Linked DNA regions of Homo sapiens: regions 1, 2 and 3 are each linked to region 4. Evidence: promoter capture Hi-C in 16 types of primary human blood cells and fetal thymus (Javierre and others, 2016). All regions are on one chromosome and are shown on one strand. The core of a region is centred on a gene start or on the middle of the fragment in contact, and the rest is flanking DNA. Distances in the headings are between cores, read along the strand shown.

The links. Contacts are between HindIII fragments. The CHiCAGO score rates a contact against its expected background, and 5 or more counts as called.
Region 1: a fragment that was not itself captured here is called in contact with the fragment with the promoter of OR5A2 in region 4 in 3 of 17 cell types (total B cells, naive B cells and monocytes); the score reaches 17.2 in total B cells.
Region 2: a contact is called between a fragment that was not itself captured here and the fragment with the promoter of OR5A2 in region 4, in 11 of 17 cell types (monocytes, total B cells, naive B cells and 8 more). The highest score is 22.7, in monocytes.
Region 3: a fragment that was not itself captured here is called in contact with the fragment with the promoter of OR5A2 in region 4 in 3 of 17 cell types (total B cells, naive B cells and monocytes); the score reaches 8.0 in total B cells.

What each region holds. Positions count from the first base shown.
Region 1 is chr11:59,258,876-59,265,215 of GRCh38, reverse strand. It overlaps the pseudogene WARS1P1 and the pseudogene SLC25A47P1. Among named protein-coding and RNA genes, the nearest start is that of MPEG1, 49 kb to the right of the region's middle. RefSeq lists enhancers at 1,012-1,512, 1,513-2,013. The HindIII fragment of the contact is 3,005 bases long and covers 252-3,256 here.
Region 2 is chr11:59,181,151-59,187,913 of GRCh38, reverse strand. DTX4 (deltex E3 ubiquitin ligase 4) reads right to left here. Exons shown (of 9, transcript NM_015177.2): 2 at 5,452-6,175. LOC124902675 (a long non-coding RNA gene) reads left to right here. Exons shown (of 4, transcript XR_007062682.1): 2 at 1,033-1,224. Among named protein-coding and RNA genes, the nearest start is that of DTX4, 12 kb to the right of the region's middle. RefSeq lists a silencer at 1,390-1,479. The HindIII fragment of the contact is 7,574 bases long and covers 1-5,356 here.
Region 3 is chr11:59,224,176-59,230,472 of GRCh38, reverse strand. No RefSeq gene overlaps it. Among named protein-coding and RNA genes, the nearest start is that of MPEG1, 14 kb to the right of the region's middle. The HindIII fragment of the contact is 1,013 bases long and covers 3,963-4,975 here.
Region 4 is chr11:59,421,975-59,428,378 of GRCh38, reverse strand. OR5A2 (olfactory receptor family 5 subfamily A member 2) reads left to right here and starts at 1,966. Exons shown (of 2, transcript NM_001001954.2): 1 at 1,966-2,208; 2 at 5,335-6,404. The coding sequence starts at 5,426. The coding sequence ends at 6,400. The HindIII fragment of the contact is 12,260 bases long and covers 1-6,404 here.

The sequences.
Region 1 (6,340 bases), core at 505-3,004, 160 kb after region 4:
GGAGGTCTATCCCAGGGGCTACACAGGCTCAGAGACTCCAGACCCAGAGCCCTAACCTCTTGGGATTTCAGAGGGAGGCCAGGATGTCTGGGAGGACTGACTGGGGGCTCATCCCGCTCCACACACCAATCTCACCCCAGAGACACATCTACCGCCTCTCAAAGTGGCTGAGACTGTACCCACCCACTGCCTGGGGCTGTGTGGTCAGCATCAACCAGCCGGACATTGCACACATGCAAGCAGGCGAAGCTTAAAGCATAGAGGTTCCCGTGTCCTGGGTACAGGGCTGTCTTGTCTCATTTTATTTATTTATTTATTTTTGGAGACAAAATATTGTCTGTCTCTCAGACTGGAGTACAGTGGCGTGATCATGGCACACTGCATCCTCGACCTCCTAGGCTGAAGCGTTCCTTCCACCTCAGCTTCCTGAATAGCTGGCACTACAGGCATGTGCTACCATGCCTGGCTAGTTTTTGTATTTTTCATAGAGACAAGGGTTTTGCTATGTTGCCCTGGCTGGTCTCAAACTCCTGGGCTCAAGTGATTCTCCTGCCTCAGCCTCCCAAAGTGCTGGCATTATAGGCATGAGCTAGCATGCCTGACCCATGCCCCATTTTAAAGATGAAGAAACAGGCTCAGGTGGGCCAGCGGCTTCCTCCTGGGCACTGAGTGAGCCAGATGAGAATGTGGGGACTTCTGACTTTGCTCAGACTTGCCAAGAAGCCCCATTTTCTGGAAATGCCAGGGCTGCTGATTTTCTCTGGAACTGGGCCAGTACCCCAAAGTCCACTCTGGGCTCCTGAGTCAGGATCCATTCTTTGGAAGTCTCACTGTCCCTCTTTGGCCCCTCCAAATCCCACCAAAATGGCAAAATCTATTACAATACAAAATAGCTCAGGTATGTTTCACCCGGAAATTTCCCTCTAGAAATATGCCCCAGTTAAACATTAAAGACCCCAAATGGTGTTCACTAGGGCACTCTGCAATAAGCTGAACACAAGCCCCCAGCACATTGGCAGCAGAGCTGAGTCCTGCTGGTTGTATTCACAGAGTCTACTGCCTGCCAGGCAGGGCTGCAGAGCTTTGTATCTGCTGACTCCGCTGTCCTCCCAATGGCCGTGTCGTGTTAGGTCATAGAATTTCCATTTTACAGATGAGGAAACTGAGGCCCACACAGATGAAGGGATCCATCCGGGTCATGTAGTTAGAAGTGGATTAGTGGAGACCTGGGTAGCCTGACTCAGAGCCTCTGGCCACCCGCGGCTGCCTGACCAGCATGGGGTGCCGTGGATATCCACGAAGGGCAACGGATCCCTCCATGCCAGGTGGCATGGCATTCAAGACACATGGGTAGGGAGAGGGAAAGGAAGCAAATGGCAAACCTGCAGCATCTCAGGGCTCAGGCTCCCCAAGGTCACCATGGGTAACACGAGGCCTGTGGGAGGCCAGGCGCAGGCTGTGGGCAGAGCTGTAGGTGCCATCTTATCCCTGCCTTCTCCTCCTCTGCAGGTGTTCCTGGCCTCGCCCACTGAGGTGGCTAAGGTCTGCCTGCAGACACAGATGCAGCAGTTGCGGCCCTTGGCCTCGGGGCCTTTGTCTGTGCCCCTCGTGTGTCCTGTGTCTCCTGTATGTTCAGTGTCCAAGTACCATGGGCTGCTGCACTGCCTGGCCATGGTGGCCCATGAGGAGGGGCTGCACAGCCTCTACAAGAGCAGCTCAGCCCTGCTTTTCTGGGACAGCCACTCCTTTGCCACCTACTTCTTCTCCTATGCTGCCCTCTGTGGGTGGCTCGGCCCCACTGGCCATAGCCAGCCAGGTGAGCAGGGGCTGGGACTTGGAAGGGTGGGGACCCCAGTGGGATGAGGAGGCCCAGGTGAGGTCATGCCACATGGCAGTACCTGAGTAGGAACTTGAACCCGGCCTCCTGCCTCCCAGGGTGTGATCTTTGTTTCCCTCAACACTAAGAGACAGCAGGGAGGGGCGAGCAGACTCATGCCAGTGCGTCTGAAGCTCCAGCCCTCCCTTTCCTGGTGCCACATGGCATCCAGTGATGGGGGCCATCATGGGCCAGGGCTGGCAGGTCCAGTGTGAAGCCACCAGGTCTCCACCACAGCAGCCCCCTGGCAGGGCTGGGAGCCACCTGCCTTCACTACATTCCCTCACGGACACTGATCTTGAGGTATCTGTGGGCTGTATGCTGTCCCATGTTCTGCTGAACAAAACTGATTCCGGAACAAGAGGTGGACCCCCTCCTGAGCCTGCCCCTGTCACACTGGTCTCTGTATGTGTGGTGCTGTGGGCACCAGACCTTATGTCCTGTGCCCTGTGCCAGGAACACCCTCTTCCTGCTCGGCCTGGCTGGTTCTACATCCCAGGCGTCACCTCCTCCAGGAAGCTCTCCCTGCCTGACCACCAGGCTTCTCCCAGGTGTCTCCTGCTCTGCTCTCTTGAGGCCCTGTCTGGGTGTGTGGTCACTTGTCTACCTGCCCTCCTCCCACAAGAGCCTGTGAGCAGTGTAAGGACTTCATCTGGCTCCAGGGCTGGTGCACAGTATGTGCTCAGAGGGTGTGGAATGAATGAATGAGTGAATGAATGAATGAAGTCCTGCAGTGGATTCCTGGGAGTGTGTCCAGCTTAGGAGATGCAGAGGCTGAGATGCTCTGGCCAAATGCTGGGAAAGGGAGGCAGCTAAGAGAGAGTTTCCACTGTTCATCAAATGCTGACCCCAGGACCACTTTGTCAAGAAGACCACACCTGCTCGGGCTTGGAAGGAGGGTTCCTGGTAGCACTCCTGGCCCAGCTCCAGCAGCAGCTGCACCCTGGGAGGTGGGGGCCTTTGGCTTCCCTGAGCCTGTGTCACTGAGCAGCTGGCTCCATGTGTGTCCGGAGCGCTGTCACTGGGGAGGGGGTGCAGGTTGTACAGGAGCGGCCCCTGTACTCATTGTCTCTACAACCTCTACCGTAATGATCAGAGATTACTGGGCCTGCGGCAAGGCCCAGCCAGCGTGGCCCTGGGGAGAACACATCACATCTGCTGGTGCTGCAGGCGGGGGCTGGGGGCCAGAGGCAGACCTGTTTCTCCCCGAGCACTATCCTGGAGCGGCAAGCTGTTCTGCAGCTGTCCCTGTGTGCTCAGCCACCCTCTACCTTGGATCCCCGCTCCCCTACCCATTGCTCTTCATACACCGTACCCTTTCAGACAAAGTTGGCTGGTCTCCCTTCCAGGCTGGGGACCACAGGGCAGCAAGGCCAAGCTTGGTCAGTACCACATCTGTCTGACAAGAGGACATTACCAGCTGGAGTAGGAGTGCTCTTCCGGCAGAGCCTACGGCACCATGGTGGTGCTGGCAGCCGGCCTCACACCTCATCTCCAAATACCTGCGGGGCCACTGCTCCTGTCCGTCCTAATCCAGATGTGCCCTTGTCTCTCAGGGAAAAATTCTCTCGGAAACCCCTGGACTTTAGCAAAATGGGGGAGGTATGGGAGGTGTGCAGCCCTCCTCTGCCCTGACCAGCGGTGGCCTTGGGCAAGTCACCTGACTATTGGACCCAGGGCACCCCTCCTAATACCCTAAATAGGAGGCATCACTGCTTTTTACAGGGGAGAAGATGGAGGTCCCAGGAAGTTAAGTGACCTGTCCAAAGTCACACAGCTGATGAGGGAAGAAGCTGGTCTGTGTTGGCTCACTCCCTTCTGGGCCCACAGCCCTGCCCAGGCCCTGCCAATAGACACTCTGGCTGGGTGGACCATGACAGCAGCAGCTGTCATTGACTTCACTTGTTGTCCCTCATTGCACCTGCCCCACAGGTACAATGGAGCTACAATAAGTTGTATTAGTTGCCCAGGGCAACATGGCTGGTGAGATGCTATCTTCTGTAAGTGGTTCACTCCCACTGGCCACAGCCAGCCAGGTGAGCAGAGGCTGGGCCTGGGAAGGCAGGGAGAAGGGCTCAGCCCAGCAGGAATCAAGGCTGGGAAAGGAGGCCTACGTGAGGTCATGCTGCACACCAGTACCCAAGTGGGACTTGAACCCAGGCGTCCAGCCTCCCAGGACTGGAACCTTAATTCCCTTATTTGTAAAATGGTGCTCCTGTGTATCTGTGTGGAGACAGAAGCACCAAGAGCCAGGACAGGCTCACTGTGTCAGAGTCACCCTGTGGCCTTGGACAAGCCATGTTCCCCTCTCCTAAGCCTCAGTTTCCCCACCTGCAAAATGAGGATAGTCCGGTATAGTGAGCCCAAGTCTCCCTTGCAGCTTGGACTCTGCCCTGGGCCTCATGTGAATGGGGCCTGGCCTGGCTCCCAGCCTGTGCTCCCCATCACTACACAGCCCCACCAAGCACCCCATGGCTGGCCCCTCCTCTGAGAAACAAGGACAACCTCTACTTGTGTTCTCCACCAGCTGTTGGGAATGTGAAATGAGGTGTGAGAGGGAGCCCGCACCAAGACACTGCTAACGGCTGTCCCAGCACAAGCCCATTCCTGGGAGCCTACGACTCGGCACGGTGGGGTTCCCGGGATTGTGCGTTTTCCCCAGATTTTGACCCCAGCAGACTCAAGGCCATCCATGAAGAGGGGAAGGGAGGGGACTTTGTTCCCTCCTCAGACCTCCCAGACAGAGCACAGCACCTCGTGCGGGAGCCAAAGAAGTTTATTTACTCCAAGGGGCGGCAGGAAGGCAGAGCGCTCAAGAGGAGAGACCCAGATATATCGACCAGGGGCTCCCCTGAAATTTGGAATTTCTCTTCCAAGCCTGAACATGGCATGTGATTAAATGCAGCCTGTCCAGACACCAGTGAGGGCCTCTAGGGCTGCTTGTGTGACTTTCTTCCTAGCTACGTCCACCCATCCCGGACACAGCCAGTGCATTGCTCTGTACTGACTTCCATTGCGGTCAATTGTCAAAATGAAACATTTGCAGAGGTAATGACTGCTCAGCATCTGACACAGTCAGGGGAAAAGACACCGCTGACTCTGCAGGATGGAGGGTCTAGGATCCATTGGCGGGAAAACACTAGTCAAGGGAAATGAGCATGATTTCCGGAGTAGAATACATGCATGGTCTGGAGTTAAGTAAACCGGAAAGTTTCACCCCCAAGACTCAATTTAATAAAAACTGCCCAACTCTGTTCACTCTTTATGATTAAAAGCAGCTTTAAAGCTGGCTGATTTCTTAGTCAAATGTGTAGCAAAGCTTTTACCTATCAATTTTTTTCGTGGTGAGTCATGGGCTGAAATACATCTTGCGCTCAATAAACTTCCCCACATCAACATTTCAAAGCACTTTTTAGGTTACAATAATGATATTTCACTTCCATATATGCATACATAGAATATATATTTTAAAATAGAGTGGGTTTTAAGAGTATACTGGGAGCCCTAGGAGTCTTCTATGGACAGAACAGGTTGGCCCATGGACTTCCAGCCAAAGGCTCCATGCCTTGGGGCTGCTTTGGGGGAGAGATTCACAGCTGGACTTCTCTATCTGACCATGCAATGTCAGCACCAATCACCCACAATGTTTTGCCCTCAAGAGACAGAAATAATGAAACTCAGAGGAATAAACAGTATTGATAACATACACAGGCTTAGAGAAACCAAGCCCAGTAATGATCATGTGACGGAAGACTACAGGTAGCGGTACTTTGATTGGGCTGGGATTATTGATAAATCACGTCTCTTTATAAGCATATATAAAATGAGCACGACTGAACTCATTCGTTAGTGAACTCTTTCACTAACTCGTCCATGACCTCCTTGCACTGGGCTTGGTGCTCTGTAATCACGGGCTGGAGAACCTCTATGAGCATCTTCTTGAGGTCACCAGTGAGCATGTCTCTGCTGGTGTCATCCTGCCCTCAAAAAGACAGCCATGGTGAGAGATGGCTCCACATGCCCTAAGTGGCTTCTTCCTGCCTCAGACACCAGGTCAGCCCACACCACCCTTGCAGAGCCAGGCGTGCAAGTGGCACTTAGAAGTGAAATCTGTTGTTACCATGACAAACAGCTGTACCTTCAGCTACACTTTTCTTAAAACAACTAGAAACCTGGCTGTGGCAGTAGCCATAACTTGGTCTCTCATAGTGAAAGGGCCAATGAGGAGGGCAGTCCCCACCTCCACCGACGCTAGGGACTGCTCCCCCAAGCATAAACAACAATAATTCCTGGCAGCCTTATGGCCTCTGTAAAATCTTGCTGATGTTTTTCTTTTTCTGATTGTAGTACATGCTCATTAAACAAATTTAATAAGGTACCCAAACCACAAAACAGCAGCAAACTGAAGAAAAAAATCACCTACAATTCCAGTGCCCAGAGGTGGGGCCCACTGCTAACATTTGG
Region 2 (6,763 bases), core at 320-2,819, 240 kb after region 4:
TGCTAGAACAGCTGTCACTTCTCCTTTTCCCTGAGACATATATAAATATTAGGCAAAGCCTCCTCCCCTTTCTGTCCTTCTCCCCAGCAACTCCAGCCAGGCTGGAGAGGAGATGGCACAGCTGCCTGGGAAAGGCGCGGCCCTCCCACAGCGCTGACTTGGAAAATATGGGACACATGGGTCTGGGTCTTGCGCCATCCTCTCTGTCACCCACACTCCTGCAGCTGGGCTTGGAGAGGCTAATGGACCCGGTCACAGATGACTCCAGGAGGCAGACAGCCTGCAAAGCCAACAGCTCTGCTGTGGGGGCAGGATGGTGCTGGGAAAGCAAGAGGAGGAAAAAAAGAATATTTATGTATTGATTTATCCATCCAAAAAGTGTTTATTGAGCCCTACTTTGTGTTGTTTGCTATTCCCGATGCTGGGGGTCAGCAGTGAACACATGGCTCATGGCCCTTCTTCACTCACATGTTACAGTTACCAACATGCACAGAGCTCACCTCCCCCCAACAGTGGCTCCAACTGCTCACAGCATATAAACCTGTCTGATCCTTCCAACATCCTATGCAAGAGGTGCAGTCATTAACACCATTTTAGAGACAACTACATTGAGGCACAGAGAGGTTAAGGAAACTTGGTAAGATCACACAGCTAAGCCAGAAAATCTGGCACCAGAGCCCATTTACTATGCCAGGCTCTTGTGTTTACGTAATCCTTATAACATCCCACACTGCAAACATAGACCAGAAACTCAGAGAGCGTAATGAATAAACCCACCACTAGGAATGGGGAAAGCTGCAACGGGACCTCCATGCCAAGCAGTGGGGTCTGTCTCTGCCCCTCATGCCTGTAAGGAAGGTTCTTCCCCAGCTCTAACCTACTTTGAGCCTGCCTGGGGCTCTGTCCCTTCCCAGGGATGATGACATGTGCACCAATGCTGGGAGATGGATGTGAAAGAACAGATGTGGGAATGGGAATGTTTGTGTCTCACCAGGCCACCCAAAGCCGCTTTTCTTCTGAAACTGTCCCCAGGATAAATCAAACCAGGATGGGAGGATGGAGGAGAAAGCTGAATACAAAACAAGGGCCACTGGGCCAAGAAAAGAAGAATGGACTTGTTTCTGGACTCTGTGACCTGCTCCCCAGGGCCAGGCATGGTATGGTGGATGGGCAGTCAGGAAAATCAGGTGCAAGTCCCATCCCTGCCAGGAGTTTCTCGCTAAGGTAGTTAACTTTTCTGAGCCTCAATTTCCCCATCTGTAAAACTGTGAGGGTCTTGGGTTAGAAGACGCTACGGAAACTGGCTGACAACTTCCCACCAATATCTGAGAAAAAAATGGCCACCCAAGCCCTGAGTCCTCCACTTATGGCCGATTCTCCTCGCCCAGCTCTTTCTGGAGAGGTTTGGGGAAAAGACCCGGCTTCCTGTGTCCTGCTCCCAGCTCCCCAGCAGGGGGCAGCACTCAGAACCCAGACCTGCACCTACCTTCTCCCTCGCCATCTTCAGAGCCCCCACTCCAGCTGATAAGTAGCTGTGATCTGGGTGACAAAAGCCACCTTTGTTCCCATAAACTGGACTGGCAGGTTTCCACACCCAATCTGGCCAACCAGGAAATAATCCAATCCCCAGAACACCACACATTTCAGGCAGCTCAAGAACTCAGGGGCAAGATGTGGAGAGAGGGAGGGAAGGGCCCGCATGTGGACCTGGGACACACAAGAAGACTATGGGTTCAACAGGTGGGAGAGATACATGTCCCTGCCACTTGAGGAGAGGAATGACATGGCGGGTAGGCTTGTCACTGGGCTCTGGGAAGGAGGGGTCTGGGGAGAAGGGGTATATTTGCTTGTGAAATCCAGAACCGTGTAATGGAAGGAGCTCTGCACTGGAGTCAGGGAGTCTTTGTTTTAGCCCCGCTCAGCACTGACCTGCTTTGCCTTTGGGAGAGCCGCACAGCCTCTCTGCGTTCTGTTGACCATATCTAAGTTACCACAGCCGTGAACAGGGCATCCTAAATGTCTGCCCCATGGGGTCCCTGTGAGGATTTAGGAACTAGGTCAACTAACTGTAAACAGCTGAGCCCTGTGCAAGTTTGGGTGACTGTTTATGCTTTTACCTCCCAAGTATAAAAGGGGCATTGGGCTGAATAAAGACGTTTTCTGCTCTAATATTCCAATTTTCTGATTCTCGAGGTCATGGGTATCCAGCATAAAGTTGAGTGCTGGGCAGTACTTGAGACGGTTGATCTCACCTCCCCCACTATTACTGGTTAAACCTTGGAGAACAGCCCATGAAGTCCCAGCTGGTCACACCCTTTTGGGGCCTCAGCTTCAAAAGCCTGAGCTCTCCTAGAAAACTGCAACCCAATGGCAGGCATGCATCTCACATCCTTCAGGCAACTCCATCAGCCAAAACTGTCTGTCCTAACCACTGCTTGGCCAATCATAAGACACCCCCTGCCCCCATTCAGTTGGCCTGTTCCCTGATATGGAGGGTCTTTTGTTTCTGTCGCTAAAACATAAAACTAAGACAAGAGAAGAGAGCTGGCAAGGTGGCAGAGAAAGGAGTTTTGAGGGAGGGAGTATATCTCTGCAGTCACCATGATGAGAAGCAGTGTTTTTCTCGGAGTTATGCACCAGTCCAGGAATCCTCCAGCAGGACAAGGATCTTGTCTCTACGGCAACTGAGGCCTAGCTGGAGACAGAGAATCCTCAGCTCTAGAGGAGGGGGCTAGAGGGGTGACGCTTGCCTCCACTGCACAGCCCCCTTCTTGCTTCCCTTTAGAAAACCCCTGCTTCTGTCTCTGAATAATTCACAGGATCTTTTGTTCCTGCCCCCAAACCTTTCTCTTCATCCCACTCCTCCCGCCCTCCCTGGTCTTCCTTTTTCCGTGGGAAAGTTGCTGGAAGAGGTCATGGGCAGAGAGAGGAGGGGGAAAGGGGCCCTGCAATGACAGAAGGTCGATGGCAATGCCAGACAAAGGGAATAAACACGCTAATTAAATGGCCAAGAAAGGCTGGAGGAGAAGATGGGATTGGGGGTGAGGGAGGTGGTAAGAGGTGAAAAGCAAAGGGCTGGAAGATCGAGAGGAGTAGGCAGGGGCCTCCCTCATCAGGAAAACAGAGTAGAGAGAAAAAAAAGAAAACAACTTGTTTCTATAGCCCTTTTGAAACTGTACTGCTCAGACCTCCACCCATTCTCTAGCCCCAATTCTATGAGCGGGCAGAGGAAATAAAGAAGATAGATAAAGCTGCTGACTCCACTCCCTCATCGAGATTCAAAGCCACCTGGGTGCCTCTCCCTCAGTGATGGAAATGAAGTCACTTGGCATTTGTCAAGGGCACCAGAGACAAGGTGGGATGTCAGACCCTACTCAGCTTTGACTTCCCCTACATGGACACCTGTTAACAATAATAACAGCAATCACAATGACAGCAGCCTATACTGACTGAACTCTTATGTGTCAAGCACTGTGCTAAGTCTATACACTTAGTATGTCATTTGAACTTAAGACAACTGTAAAAGGAAGTTACTATTACTATCCCATCTTACAGATGAGGAAACTGAAGACAGAGGATGCAAATCTTGCCCCAACTGACACAGCAAGGCACTTGGGTTCAAGCCCAGACAGTCCTAGTTTCTGGAGGACGGGTTCTTACCCAGCACAGGAGCCTCCCTCCTCCATGCTAGCAATCACCCTGGAACTCTGTTAGAGGCCCCCAGGATGGTGCTGTGTGAAATCGGGGAGAAATTAAGCAGCAGCAAGGTTTAGCCATCCATTCTCTGCTCCCAAATACTTCTGCCATCTCAGGGGAAGTCATGAAAATCTCATGCATCTCACCAGCATTTTGCCTGTTATAAACTGCCTTTGTGTACAATGAGGAGCTGGGCTTTAGCCAAAAGAACAGTGGATCAGGAGGCCAAAACCTGGGTTCCAACCCCTATTGCATAACACATGAGCTCTGTTTCTCCTTGGGAAATCAATTCTGAGCAGGATGTCTGTGCTTAACACTTAGATCACAGAGTAAGAGAATGCACTGCCAAGAGGCCAACTCCCTTAGTGGAGGTTTTCACGATAACTCCATGCAGTAGGTAAGGCCACTGGATCTTGCAAAGATTCTGTGGCTCACCCCAGTGACAGAGGTAGGAGTAGGGGCTGGGCCTCTGGATTTCCAACTCGGCACTCTTCCCACTCTGTGGTGTACCCTCCTTCATTCCTCCTCCCAGTGCCAAACCTCTGTGTGCAGGGACCCAGCTGAGTACCAAAACCACCTTCTTAGAGCAGCCTGGACTTTCAGACTTAGGCACCCAATGCAATTGAAAACCATCCGGATCAGCTGGGATCAGGGGCCACAGGCAGAGCCAGGCCTCTCTGGAGACAGAAAGGGAAGATTGGGTGGCTGTGAGATGCTAAGAAACCAGGGGCTGGCAGGCAAAGGTTGCAGCCACCATATGGATCTGGGTCACTTCGATTTTATGATCAGGAAAATCAAGAACATAAAAACCAATACAAACAGGACCTACAGCATCAACAGGTTGTCACAGAAATAACTGAGACAATGTATGGAAAGTGCCTGGCACATAATAAGTCATCACTAAAAATAGGCCGGTATTCCAATTTGGAGTCACCTCTCTGGCTTCCAGAGAGACTACGGGAAAGAAACTCTCATTTTGCACCTACTGAATGCTGGGCATTGTGGTAGGTACTTGGTAGAAGAGGAGCACAGCAGAGTCAGAATCTGGGCTCTAGTGTCAGATGTCCTAAAGTCTGAATCCCATTCTCTGCCAATGATTAGCTATGTACCCTTGAACAAGCGAACATCTACTGTCTTCATCTGTAAATGGGGATAATGCCTACTTGCCTACTTCATAGAGTTGTTGCAAGGATTAAATGAGATGTAAAGCCCCAAACTACAATATAGTGGGAGTTCAATTAATGTTATTAATGTTGCCTATTATTGCTTAGTAGGCACAATCTCATTCTGTCACCCAAGCTGGAGTGTAGTGGTACAATAATAGCTCACTGCAGCCTTGACCTCCTGGGCTCAAGAGATCCTCCAGCATCAGCCTCCCAAAGTGCTGGGATTACAGGTATGAACCACCACGCCTGGCCACAATCTTCTTTAAGCCTCACAGCCACCCTAACAGGCGTATTACTGCCAGCATTTACAGATGAGAAAGTTAGGACTCCATGACGTTAGGGATCTGGTCCTAAATCATATGGCTAGGAAGAGCCAAAGTCTCAACCAGAGTCCAGATCAGAGGCCAAGCATCAAACCCTCCCTTATCCACCACACCTGCAGCCAGGTGCACCACCTTCACCTGCAGCCAGGGGTCAGCACAAGATGAGAAGCTTAAGTCTTGGCAGCCCCTCCTTCTGATCCAGAAGATCTGCTGTAGCCTATCTCTACCCTGAGTAAATGCTCTGAGGCAGCTGTGGAAGCACTTACCCAGAGGCGATCAGCACCCGGGACTGGGCAATGGCCAGTCGCTGCAGGTTGGTACGATTCAAGGTGGCCAGGGCCACCCTTCCGGTCTTGCTGTTGGGTCCTGGGGGACTGGCAGGAGAGCCCATGGTTGTCCCAGTGGGCATGCTGGAGGCTTGTCTCCGGATCACCTGCGATGGGGCGGTCTTCAGTGGGCCTCGAATGGTGCCTGTGCTGTCCAGTGGCTTGGCCCCAGAGCCTGGCAGTGGGGGTAGCTTGACCACTCCAGGAGGCGGCATGTTCTTGCGGGTCACTGGCAGCTGTAGGGGCCCAGTGCTGCCATTGACCACGGCTGCCTTAACACTCATCACCAAGACACACTGGGGACAGGAGCAGGGGGACATGGGGGGCGAGGTGGCTGGCCCAGGGCTGACTGGCCAGGACTGAGCCTTAGGCAAGGTCCCTGTGACCATGGGGTAGATGAGGTCGAGGCGCCGGCGGACGCGGCGTTGGCGCTGGGTCTGACGGTTGATCTGGCCCATGGTGTTGAAGTCAATTACGTAGCTAAAGCCAATGGAAGTGAGGTCGATCCAGGGGTGCTGCTTCTCATAGGCATGCTGGATGGTGATGCCCACTTCCATGTCGTAGGGCGTCCAGGAGCCATTGTCGTTCTCCCACTCCCACACCACGCCCTTCCCAGGGGCCGAGGAGGGGTCGTAGTAGTTGCGGCGAACTGGGCGGAGAGTTCCTGCCAGGGTGGGATAGGGGAGAGGTCAGAGTCAGCATGCAATTACACTGAGTGGCAAGACATTAACAAGTCATGCCATTGCCATAATGGCAAACATGAAACAAGTCCTACTGTGTACTGGGCATGACACTGCCTGAAGTGCCAGCTTTGAATGAAACTCATTTCTCCCTTTAAGATGTCTATAGTCCAACCAGGGTAGAAGCAGATGAGTTACAGCATGAAGGATATGGGTGGCAGTATAAGGTAAGGTAGCAGAAAGACTGCCTCCTGCTTTGCAGTCGGGACATCTTGGTTTGCAGACAAATTCATTCCATTTACTAGCTAATATAGAACCTCTCAGCCTCCCTTTCCCTCCTGGGAAACAGGATAACTCCTTCCTAGAGTTTTTGTACAAACTAAATATGACTCACTTATTTATTCAGCAAATATGTATTTGTACATGCGAGGTTCTGGATTTCATGTGAACCCTATGAATGCACTAAGGCATGTAAAGCCCTTGACACACAGTAGGTGCTCATAATGATCATATTCCTTCTCCTCTGTTCCTCTAAATGCTCTTGTGCCAAGAGTCATGAGGAAAAGAATACA
Region 3 (6,297 bases), core at 3,220-5,719, 200 kb after region 4:
CCTTCTGTGTTAATAGATCTACCTCGGTCTTTTTAAATTGTTTCATAGAATTGATACACAAAATCTATGTACCTATTCCCCCATTGATGGATATTTAGGTAGTTTCCAGATTTTACCAATCTATTACAAACAGTAATTGAACATGCTGCTTTATGCTAATATGCAATTTTTTTCTTTCTTTCTTTTTTTTTTTTTAGACGGAGTCTAGCTCTTTTGCCCAGGCTGGAGTGCAGTGGCACAATCTCGGCTCATTGCAACCTCCGCCTCCCAGGTTCAAGTGATTCTTCTGCCTCAGCCTCCCGAGTAGCTGGGACTACAGGCATGCGCCACCGTGCCCGGCTAATTTCACCATATTGGCCAGGCTGGTCCCAAACTGCTGACCTTGTGATCCGCCTGCCTCGGCCTCTCAAAGTGCTGGAATTGCAGGCTTGAGCCATCGCGCCTAGCCCTAATATGCAATTTTTATGGTAGAAACTGAGAGGTTGAATTGCTGTTTCCAGGGAATGTCTAGCCATCTATATAACAGGGCACCTATCACGTTACACTTTTTGGAAGAATGATATTAATGTTATTCCCTTTGATGGGCTCTTTATATGTATCCCTTTAATCCTTGAAACAACACTGTTAGATTGGGTTATTTTCCTCTTTTACCTACAAAATACTACAGATGACAGAAAGGGTCCTTACATACACTATTTCTCTTTCAGTTCTCACAACCACACTATGAGATAGAAATTTTCATCATTTTTATGTGAGATAAGATATATAAGGCTGGAAAGGATGTGAAGTAAAATATACTCTGGCATACACTAATAAATTAAGAACATCTCAAGTGCATATTTACATGACACCAAGGTCATTCATTGAAAATACACATTTTCACTTGCATGCTTGGTACCACTCAGAGACAAAGAAGAAAATATTAAAGCAAATTCTTTCAAAAACTGCCTAAATATTTTCTCTAGTCAGGCAAGATGTAAGTTCAGAAAGAGAAAGGAGAACTGGCTTGCTTCTGCTAAATAGAATCAGTTTTAATAAGATCGCCACCTAAGTTATTTACCAAGAGTGATGAGCTGTATATAACATAGCATTATTCAAAAAGTAATGAATTTCTTTCTTTTTTTTTTTTTGAGGCGGAGTCTCGCTCTGTCGCCTAGGCTGGAGCGCAATGGCGCTATCTCAGCTCACTGCAAGCTCCACCTCCTGGGTTCACACCATTCTCCTGCCTTAGCCTCCCAAGCAGTTGGGACTACAGGCGCCCGCCACCACGCTCAGCTAATTTTTTTTGTGTGTTTTTAGTAGAGACGGGGTTTCACCATGTTAGCCAGGATGGTCTCGATCTCCTGACCTCGTGATCCGCCCGCCTCGGCCTCCCAAAGTGCTGGGATTACAGGCGTGAGCCACTGCGCCCCCGCCATGAATTTCTTAATGGAGAAATTTTGTAAATTTTTTTTCATAAATGACCGTAAAACAAGGGAGAAACCAAAATGTTAAAACATAAACAGAATTGAATTAATAATGAGTAAGTAATGCTTTCCAAAGTTAATGACAGCAAGGAGGCTCTATCCAGCTTACAGCCCCTGTCTACACTCAGCTAAAGGACTGACCAGCTGTGCTATAGGCTCTAGCAAAGGAAAACAGTCTTGAGTGTCCATGTACCAAGTATCAGGGGTTGGGGGAGCAGTTAATAAAGAGAGGGATGGATGTTTTAAAGTCTACCCCTGGATTAAGCCACGTAAGAAAAGACTGCCACACAACATTGCATCAGAATCCACAAAGAATGATTTATACTGAAAGACTCTAGAAGAAATAGACCCTCTGACAACTGTCTTCTTCACTACAATTTTCCTGTATTCATCCTATTAACAATCTGTACTGTATCATTGAACATGGAAACATAAACTCTTTCCACGTTGGCCACTAACAAGTTTTGAGTGAAATTTGTGGGACATCTGTAGCAAGAAGTTTAGTCACTCTGGGAGCACTTTTTTTTTTTTTTTTTGAGACGGAGTCTCGCACAGTTGCCTGGGCTGAAGTGCGGTGGCGCGATCTCGGCTCACTGCAAACTCCGCCTCCCAGGTTCAACCTATTCTCCTGCCTCAGCCTCCTAAGTAGCTGGAATTACAGTCGCCTGCCACCACACCCGGCTAATTTTTTGTATTTTTTAGTAGAGATGGGGTTTCACTACGTTGGCCAGGCTGGTCTCAAACCCCTGACCTCATGATCCATCCGCCTCGGCCTCCCAAAGTGCTGGGATTACAGGAGTGAGCCACCGCGTCCGGCCTTTTATTCTTATTCCTGGCTCTTCTCTGCATCTCTGTTTTTGCTTTTATCATTCTTTAATTTTTTTTTTTTGTTTTGAGATGGAGTCTCGCTCTGTCGCCCAGGCTGGAGTGCAGTGACGCCATTTCGGCTCACTGCAAGCTCCGCCTCCCAGGTTCATGCCATTCTCCTGCCTCAGCCTCCCGAGTAGCTGAGACTACAGGTGCCTGCCACCATACCTGGCTAATTTTTTTGTATTTTTAGTAGAGACGGGGTTTCACCGTGTTAGCCAGGATGTTCTGGATCTTCTGACCTCGTGATCCGCCCGCCTCGGCCTCCCAAAGTGCTGGGATTACAGGCCTGAGCCACTGAGCCTGGCCTAAATTTTTTATTTTGTATATTTTATATATCTTTGCAGGATGCTTGCTTAAATATTTTGGAGCAAAGTAGAATATAATAAAGTCCAAGATTTTGCTTTACACAGAAAGATGATGCATTAGAAAGAGAATGTGTCATGGTTCTTTTGGTAACAAATATCAGAAATGTCAATCCACTGCCACCAGAAGAAAAGAAATCATAAATGCCCACTTTAGAAAGTCCATTAGGATAGGAATTCGAAGAATTGTGCTTGGTTTCTTACTCAAATTGTGTGTCTTTTTAGATAAAGTAGACATCCCACTGTCTTCATGTATATAATGGAAATATTAATAGCTGTTCTTCCATCATATAAATTACCTGTACAAGTTTGAGTGAGGGTCAAACTAAATAATGTAAGTAAAATAAATTTTGTGAACTATGAAATCAGTGAAACTTCTAACACATGTAAAGTCAACCCTCAAGTGTGTTTTGAATCTCTCTACATTTTGTGGTTTCTTGGATCCAATTAAAATAAGAAGGAAAATCATTTTTTAAAAGAAACCACAGAACAGCATCATAACCTAATTTTTGGTAACTCATCCATGTAATGTGGAACTGCTCCCTTTCTATCAGGATTATGACTTTAGTACTTTTATTTATGATCATTTTAACAGAACCACAACTCCCTTTTTGTGACAAAGACTGCTAAAACTGCAGGGAAAGATAGACTGCTAAAAATCTGAAAACCTATGGGGATAACTCCTAATGAAGATGGTCTCTAATATCTGCTCAAAAATATTAAGTCCTTTAATCCATCCCTAAATCAAAGCATAAAATCAAATTGTAAGGGAGCAAATGAAGACCCTCTTCCCTTTATCAATTGCTCAATGGCAGTTTAAGAGATTTTGACAAACACTTTGACAAATACTTTTACCTTCAATGAAACCAACACATTCTCCTGCCTATAGAGATGTGGAGTAGAGTCAGGAATAAAACAATAAAACAATAGTAAAACACACATGTTGTTTTACTACTTTTCCATGTGCTGAGATATAAATATCATATCATACTATTGTTCTCACTGACAGTTTGCTGAGGAGGAGAATATACCAGGTGAGGGTGATTATTATTTGAAATGGAAAACTACATACAGTGATAGTCAAGAATACAGTATGGGCTCAATAAACAATGTGGAATGAGTTGGCAGGTCTTAGAGGACATTCCAGGCAGCTTTTCATATTTATTTTCACTGCCAAGTATTATCACTGTTATTTGTAAAGAATCACAGGAAATCCTACCATCCACCCTGCTGAGGGCACTAAAGGGCATACGTGTTTGAAGCTTTGACCATCGCCTTTCAATAATGATTGTGGTCAGCTGAAAAATAAGCCCTTCTCTCCCAAAGATGTCTACATTCTAACCCTCAGAACTTGTGAATGTGTTACCTTATGTTCTATAAAGGAGTTGGTCATGGGGGCGTGACGACAGAAGCAGAAGTTTGGAATGATACGGAGAAGGGGCCGTGAGCTAAGAATACAAAAGCTGAAAGAGGCAAGAAAACAGATTTTCCTCTGAAGCCTCCAGAGGGAATGCAGCTCTGAAGACACCTTAATTTTAGACTTCTGACCTCAAGCACACTGTTGTGTGTCAGACTTTTCTTACCTGGCTTAATCCAGTGGTAGACTTTAAAACATCCATCCCTCTCCTTATTAACTGCTCCCGCAATCCCTGATAGGTGGAAAATAAATTTGTGATAATTTGTTGAGACAGCCATAGGAACTTACTGCAATGATACACAAAATGACTCCAACCCACCCCCATGGAACATCCTGAGGGATCTTATAAAAGAGAAATTGTATCATTTTACTCTCCTGAATAAAACCTTTTATTAACTGATGAAGTCCCCAATTCTTATCATATACAATGCATGATAAAATCCACTCCTATACCTGTCTCTCCAGCCTCTGCTCAAACCACAGCCACCTCTGTAATCTGTAGTCACCCTAGACTTCCCAACATTATCTCCATTCTCTTTCAGTATGTCTCAGTCTCTGTCTCTCTATCTGTGATATGGTTTGGATATGTGTCTTTTCCAAATCTCCCTTCGAAATGGGATTCCCAATGTTGGAGGTAGGGCCTGGTGGGAGGTGACTGGATCATGGGGGCGAATCCCTCATGAATGGAAGAGCACCATCCCCTTGGTGATAAGTGAGTTCTTGCCCAGTTAGTTCACCTGAGAGCTGGTTGTTTGAAAGAGTTTGGGACATCCACCTTCTCTGTCTCTCTTGCTCCCACTCTCGCCATGCGATGTGTGATGCACCTGCTCCCCCTTTGCATTCTGCCATGATTCAAAGCTTCCTGAGTCCTCTCCAGGAGCAGATGCTGGTGCCGTGCTTTATATAAAGCCTGCAGAACTGTGAGCCAATTAAACCTATTTTCTTTACAAATTACCCAGCCTCAAGTGTTCCTTTATAGCAATTTAAAATGGATGAAAACAATCTGTTTCTGTCTCTGTCTCTGCCTTTCTATCTGTCTCTATGACTCACTCTGTCTCTCTATCTCTGTCTCCCTGTCTCTGTATCTCTATCCGTGGTCTATCTCTCTGTTTCTTTTCTCTCTCTCTGTTTCTGTTCTCTGTCTCTATGTCTATCTCTTTGTCTTTCTGTTTCTGTATATATCTCTGTCTCTATCTCTATATATCTGTCTATTTCTATCTCTGTCTCTGTCATTCCTCTCTGTTCTTCTATGTCTATCTTTGTCTCTGACTCTGTTTTTGTCTCTTCTTTCTCTGTCTCTCTCTCTTTGTGTCTGTTTCTGTTTCTCTCCATATCTCTGTCTGTCTCTCTCTCTCTCTGTTTCTCTGTCTCTGTCTCCACGTGTGGCTCTTTGTCTCTGAATCTCCATCTCCCTCTCCGTCTGTCTTGGAGGGCCATGCTGATCCCCAGGGCCACATTCACTTCCCTGCTACGTTCTCTCAGCATCTTGAACTTCCCTTTCACATAGTGCATCGTGTTCAATGTCTGTCCTTGAATGACTCTATAATCTTCATGACAAAGCAACTGGTGCCTGACTCAGTATTTGCTCAACAAATTTGGGGAGGAGTACATTATTAATTTGACTGTACCTCACAACATTTTTAGAGCTATCCATGATCTCTTAGTGACTGCTCTACCCACTCTCCTCTGTTTACAAGCAAATAACTGGAGCTCCCAGTGGGGAAAAAATTTGCTAATGTCTCACAGCTGGTTAATGAAAGCACTCTTTTCTGGCCCAGCAATCTTTCCACTTATCACACAACAGCTGGGTGTTGCTTGTTGACAACTTACCCAAGAGGAGGTGAAAGGTTCTAGAAGGAAGAATGCAGTACGGTCTGAAAACCCTTGCTCCACTGTTTGGCGACTCTGATTTCCTGTTTTCAAGGAAATCATGCTACTTCAGCTATCCCATGAATCCTGTGGCTTGGAAAACTTCTTCTCATCATAATTATCATGCCTCAAATGGAAGAAACCATAAGAGAATATACGGACTGGCAGTTTTCAAATTGTGTTCCAGGGATCCCAGGCCTGCTCTGAGAGGTGAGGAGGAAGTGAACTTCTGGGCTTTGGCGCCCTGCTTCCTGCTCAACCGAGGGAGCTCTTCTTTCATATGTTTTATATTTTTGGTTTCCATGTAAGCTTA
Region 4 (6,404 bases), core at 717-3,216:
ACCCAATATGTAGTCTTTTATTCCTCATCCCACTTCCACCCTTCCCCCTGAGGCCCCAAAGTCCATATCACTCTGTATGTCTCTGTGTTCTCACAGCTTTGCTCCTACTTATAAGTGAGAACATACAGTATTTGGTTTTCCATTCCTGAGTTACTTCATGTAGAATAATGGCCTCCAGCTCCATCCAAACTGGTGCAAAAGAAATTATTGCTCTTTATTCTTAAGATTCTCAATCTTACTTTGTAGATAGTCATTATCACTATAATCAGAGTTGCCATGACAGATGAAATCTATCACTACCCTATCTTATCAGCCTTTTCTTTTTCTTTTTCTTTTTTTTTTTGAGACGGAGTCTCTCTCTGTCGTCCAGGCTGGAGTGCAGTGGCGCGATCTCGGCTCACTGCAAGCTCTGCCTCCCGGGTTCATGCCATTCTCCTGCCTCAGCCTCCTGAGTAGCTGGGACTACAGGTGCCCGCCACCACGCCTGGCTAATTTTTTTTTTGTTTGTATTTTTAGTAGAGACGGGGTTTCACCGTGTTAACTAGGATAGTCTCAATTTCCTGACCTCGTGATCTGCCCGCCTCGGCCTCCCAAAGTGCTGGGATTACAGGCATGAGCCACCGCGCCCGGCCCTTATCAGCCTTTTCTAATCCTAGAAAAATGTATCCTTCATAACTGTGAGATCTACCTTTTAAATTTCCCAGATCTTAACTCAGTATCAAACTCTTTCATAGTTAGTTGGGGTTTACTCTTTCAGCATCAGAATTTCCTAGGACAGTTTATCTTCAAACTTAGATAAGAATGTTTCTTTTGAGGATGGACTTCCTTGCCTTTTCATGTTCACAGTTGATTCTTGAAGACATTTACCTCCGTTTCTGTCAACAGTCTTAGTTGCTAAATTTCTTCCCTAAATTAAGCCTGTTACCTTGTAAGTCAAGAGTCTCAGTAATTATACCCCTTTATATAGAAGACATTTCTCTCATTTAATTTTTTTTCTTTTGAGACTGAGGATTGCTGACTTAGTCTCCATGAAATAGATGAATTCATTTTTTATAAACTTTATTTCTGAAGAAAACATTTAAAAAAACAGGAAATCAATGTTTTGAAACATCAGACTTTCAGGGCTGGAGGAATTCTTGGAGAGTGAGCCCAATTCACTCAGGCTGGAGGGGTTAATTGACTTGCCCACAGTGACTCATCCAGGTAGTGGCATTGCTGGTAGTAGCACCCAAAATATTAAAAAGAGAAAAGAAGAGCCCCATCAAGCCCTTCATCCCATCCAGCCTCATTAAAAAAAATAAAGAGAAAAGAAATCTTTTCATCGTGATGCAAATAAGTCACAATAAAAAGATAGAAAGGAAAGACATATTTTTGGCCATGACCCAAGAAACAGAGTTAATGACATCATTAGTTTACATTCATTGAGTGATTTCTGTTTGTTAGGCACTGTGCTAAGCCTTTCTTATTCACAGCTTATTTAATTATCACAACTCTGTTGAGGTAGGTATTCTTGTTACACCAGTTTTACAAATGAGGGAGTTGATAAGTTTAAGACATTAAACAACATTGAACATGTTTATATTGATAAAAGGGCAGAGCCAGAATTTAAACCCAATTCTCAGAGTTGGAAACATGTGTTTCTAACCAGTATATTTCAGCACAAGGCTTGGTGTGTTTATGTGTGATTTACTTCTGATGAAATTTCTTTTAAGCAAAAGGCATCTACTAACCCAGCAGGGAGTCTTCCTGGACTCAAATCAGGGAAAGCTCAGAGAAGAATAGGTAGGGGGATGGAAAGAGGCTCCCGTGATGAGCGGTTGGCTCTTTTCGCCACCACTCCAGGGAACAATTAGTGCTCAGAAATGTTTAGCTCTAATGATTGCTGGGCTTTTTATGTTGGACCCTGGAGTGAGTGGCAGAGGGCAGCCTCTTGGGGAAAGAATGTGGCTACCTCTGCCCATTAAAATAATGAACTCCCACAGCCCATTTATTTGGAAGACTTGTTAACAAAGGAGCGGAGATTCCAGAAGCATGGTTTACTATTTACATGAGGCCAAAGCATAAGAAATTGATGGAACGAGAAACCAGCCATGGAGCAGTGGGAAATGCAGATGATCTGGTTTGCAAAAGATGTTATGGCAACAAAGCAATCAATATTTCTTCTCTTGTAGCACAAGATTGCAGGACCCTTCTGCCCAATGCAATCCAGTAAGTCCAGCTCATTCCCTCCTACCTCATCCATTCAGCAGCAAATCACAACTATGCATTTACAGCCTATTCTACCTTTTATTTGTAAAATGGGGCGAGAAACGCTGCCACTTCTTGAGTCTATTAGGAGAATTAAATGGGTTTATAAAAATCAAGTCTTTCAAACAGTACCTCGCACACAATAAGTACTAAATAAGTGTTTGATTATATTATTATATTATGATCGTTATATGATTATTGTTTGTGATTAATTATATATTATGTGTTTTGTTCTTATAATAGTAACACACCAAATATAGTAAGTCATAGGCCAAACCCTTCTGGTAAACTCTGAGGATAAGTGGTGGAAAAAAATCTATTTATTCAGCAAAATATTTAGTGGGCACCTATGTCCCAGGCCCTGTTCTTTGTACTTATGATAAAACTGTCTTTGCAAAATTATAACTGAGGAAATTATGACAGTCAAAGAAATCATATCTACCTGACTCCATCTTGCTTCTAATCTTTAAGCTGTCTTTGTCCATTCTTGGGCATAAGCTGAAGTAACTTTGGGAAGGAATTCAGTTCATGGTTTGACTCTGAAACAAAATTAATAGCAGCTCTTTCCTGAAGAGACCCCCCTTTTGCCTAGGGACCAGTCTGTCTTTGCAGGACTAACAAATTAGCTGCAAGATTAGAAATTACTGTTTAGGGGTCATGCAGCCTCTGACTCCAAGAGTATAAACCTTCCCAAATTGGCCCCGGGGATAACATCACTACTGTAAAACCTAAGATCAGTGCTTGAGATATTTTGCAGACCCTGCACTAGATGGATCAGCTGACACCACCCAGACCCGTTAACTGGCTCAACCAGTTCTGCCATCCCACCCAGGAACAGAAGACAGCAAGAAAAACTCACTTCGACCCATTTGATTCCATCTCCAGCCTAACCAATCAGCATTCCCCACTTCCCAAGCCCCTACTCGCCAAATTATCTTTAAAAACTCTGATCCCTGATGCTCAGGGAGACTAATTTGAGTAATAATAAAACTCCAGTCCTCCTGCACAACCAGCTCTGCCTGAATTACTCTTTCTCCATTGCAATTCCCCTGTCTTGATAAATGAGCTCTGTCTAGGCAGTGGGCAAGGTGAACCCATTGGGTGGTTACAAGGATAGATCAGGAAACAGAATGGGCAAAACTCCCTGCCTGTCTTTGAGTAACTTACATTCTGGTAGGGAAGATTTCACCAAGATAAGAGATACCAAATTCCTCTTACTTCCTTTTTGATAGGATTAAATAGATTGATGTTTTAGTGAAGATCAATCTAGGCTCGTCTTGGTTTTGACTGCTTGACCAGTGATTTGAGGGGAGATTAGAAATTTGTAAAAAACACAAAGCTAGGAGCAGTTTTTAATATGATAAGTGACACAGAACCACAGTTACCATTGGGTGCAAACATGCATGGGCAAACAAATTCCATACAAATAATAAAATACAGCAACCTTAATTTCACCACTGAGTCTTTCTCAGGGCATTTCTGCCTCTTTATACGCATTTGTATTTCCTAATTTTTAAAAAAAATTTCCTTTTTTTTTTGAGACAGGGTCTCACTCTGTCATCCAGGCTTGAGTGCAGTGGCACAGTCATGGTCATGGCTCACTGCAGCCTAGACCTCCTGGGCTCAAGTGATCCCCCTCACCTCAGCCTTCCAAGTAGCTGGAACTACAGGCATGTGCCACCACACCCTGCTAAGTTTTGTATTATTATTATTGTTATTATTTTTTGAGACGGAGTCTCGCTCGGTCACCAGGTTGGAGTGCAGTGGCATGCGATCTCAGCTCACTGCAACCTCCGCCTCATGGGTTCAAGCGATTCTCCTGCCTCAGCCTCCCCAGTAACTGGAACTACAGGCACATGCCACCATGCCCAGCTAATTTTTGTATTTTTAGTAGAGACAGGGTTTTGCCATATTTTCCAGGCTGTTCTCAAATTCTTGAGCTCAAGCAATTGGGCTGCCTCCACCTCCCAAAGTGCTGGGAGTGAGCCACTGTTCCTGGCCTGTTTCCTCATTTTGATCTTACATCAGTGCCAGTCTGTCTTTCTTAACTGCCAGATATGTATGGGCTTACCTCTTGTCTTCATAGTCATCGTCTGTTCTGGCCTGATGACATCAAAGTTGTCCCTTGCTTATCACTGTCTTTAAATATTGAATGAACCCTCTTCTCCCTGCTGCTTTTCTTGCCCAGGAAATATTGATTGCTGTTTGTTCTTGACCACAATGGCTCAGCCCATCTCAGTCAGCTTAGGTACGGCTCCCCTTTCCCCTTTATGGAAACCTGTTCATATCCCTTCTTTCCTATAATTGTGCTGACCGTGCTAGTCCAAATTTTTGTCATTCTATGAATTTTGTGCAATGACTTTTCTTAAGAGCATTATATAATTAGAATAAATGTTCTGGTCTTAAGCATGCTAAGTGTGTGTGTGCATATATATGCACAAACATACACATATATACAATTATCCCTGCACACACACATATAACATATATATATATACAAATATACATATACACACAAATATGTATACACACACACACACACAAATTTTTTTCCCACTTAGTTTTACTACCTAGAAGAATAGATTGTTAGACCATTGCCTGGATTTCCTCCACCAAAATGGAATATGTCAAAAATTGTAGCCCACTAAATTCAGTTCCCTTCTTTTGAGTTCTCATACTAAAGATCTATAATGCTTAAAAATGCCTAACTTTATTATACTTTATTTATTTACACTTTATTTTCAAGTCAGAAAGTCTAAAAAAGCCATAGGGAACCCAAATCCAAAGGGACACTTCAAACTCATCTGATTCAACCCTCTCCTTTCCCATTTGGGAAAATGAGAATCTGGAGAAATGACTTTTCCAAAGTCCTCAGCAAGTTATGAATGGAGCTGAAGACAAAACTCAGGCTTCTGACTCCCAATCAGTTTCTACTTTATTATTAGATGGATTCTCTTTTGGTCAACAAGCATAGAGCATATGGATTATCCTAGGCTGACTTCCTCTGAAAAGTCTTTGCCTAGCAGGTGGCTGGGCTTTAACTGGGTGTAGTTTAACTTGTTGCTGACTGTTTGTATGATCTTCTAGGAAATACCCACTCTTACAATAACAAACAAAATCTAGCTGACCACAGGATTCTTAAAGAAGAAAGTAAAGACTTTATGCAGGAAGCAGGCCTATGGCTGTAGGAAGGAACAACACAATTGTGACAAAATTCATTCTCCTGGGACTTTCAGACCATCCTCAAATGAAGATTTTCCTTTTCATGTTATTTCTGGGGCTCTACCTCCTGACGTTGGCCTGGAACTTAAGCCTCATTGCCCTCATTAAGATGGACTCTCACCTGCACATGCCCATGTACTTCTTCCTCAGTAACCTGTCCTTCCTGGACATCTGCTATGTGTCCTCCACCGCCCCTAAGATGCTGTCTGACATCATCACAGAGCAGAAAACCATTTCCTTTGTTGGCTGTGCCACTCAGTACTTTGTCTTCTGTGGGATGGGGCTGACTGAATGCTTTCTCCTGGCAGCTATGGCCTATGACCGGTATGCTGCAATCTGCAACCCCTTGCTTTACACAGTCCTCATATCCCATACACTTTGTTTAAAGATGGTGGTTGGCGCCTATGTGGGTGGATTCCTTAGTTCTTTCATTGAAACATACTCTGTCTATCAGCATGATTTCTGTGGGCCCTATATGATCAACCACTTTTTCTGTGACCTCCCTCCAGTCCTGGCTCTGTCCTGCTCTGATACCTTCACCAGCGAGGTGGTGACCTTCATAGTCAGTGTTGTCGTTGGAATAGTGTCTGTGCTAGTGGTCCTCATCTCTTATGGTTACATTGTTGCTGCTGTTGTGAAGATCAGCTCAGCTACAGGTAGGACAAAGGCCTTCAGCACTTGTGCCTCTCACCTGACTGCTGTGACCCTCTTCTATGGTTCTGGATTCTTCATGTACATGCGACCCAGTTCCAGCTACTCCCTAAACAGGGACAAGGTGGTGTCCATATTCTATGCCTTGGTGATCCCCGTGGTGAATCCCATCATCTACAGTTTTAGGAATAAGGAGATTAAAAATGCCATGAGGAAAGCCATGGAAAGGGACCCCGGGATTTCTCACGGTGGACCATTCATTTTTATGACCTTGGGCTAATGTT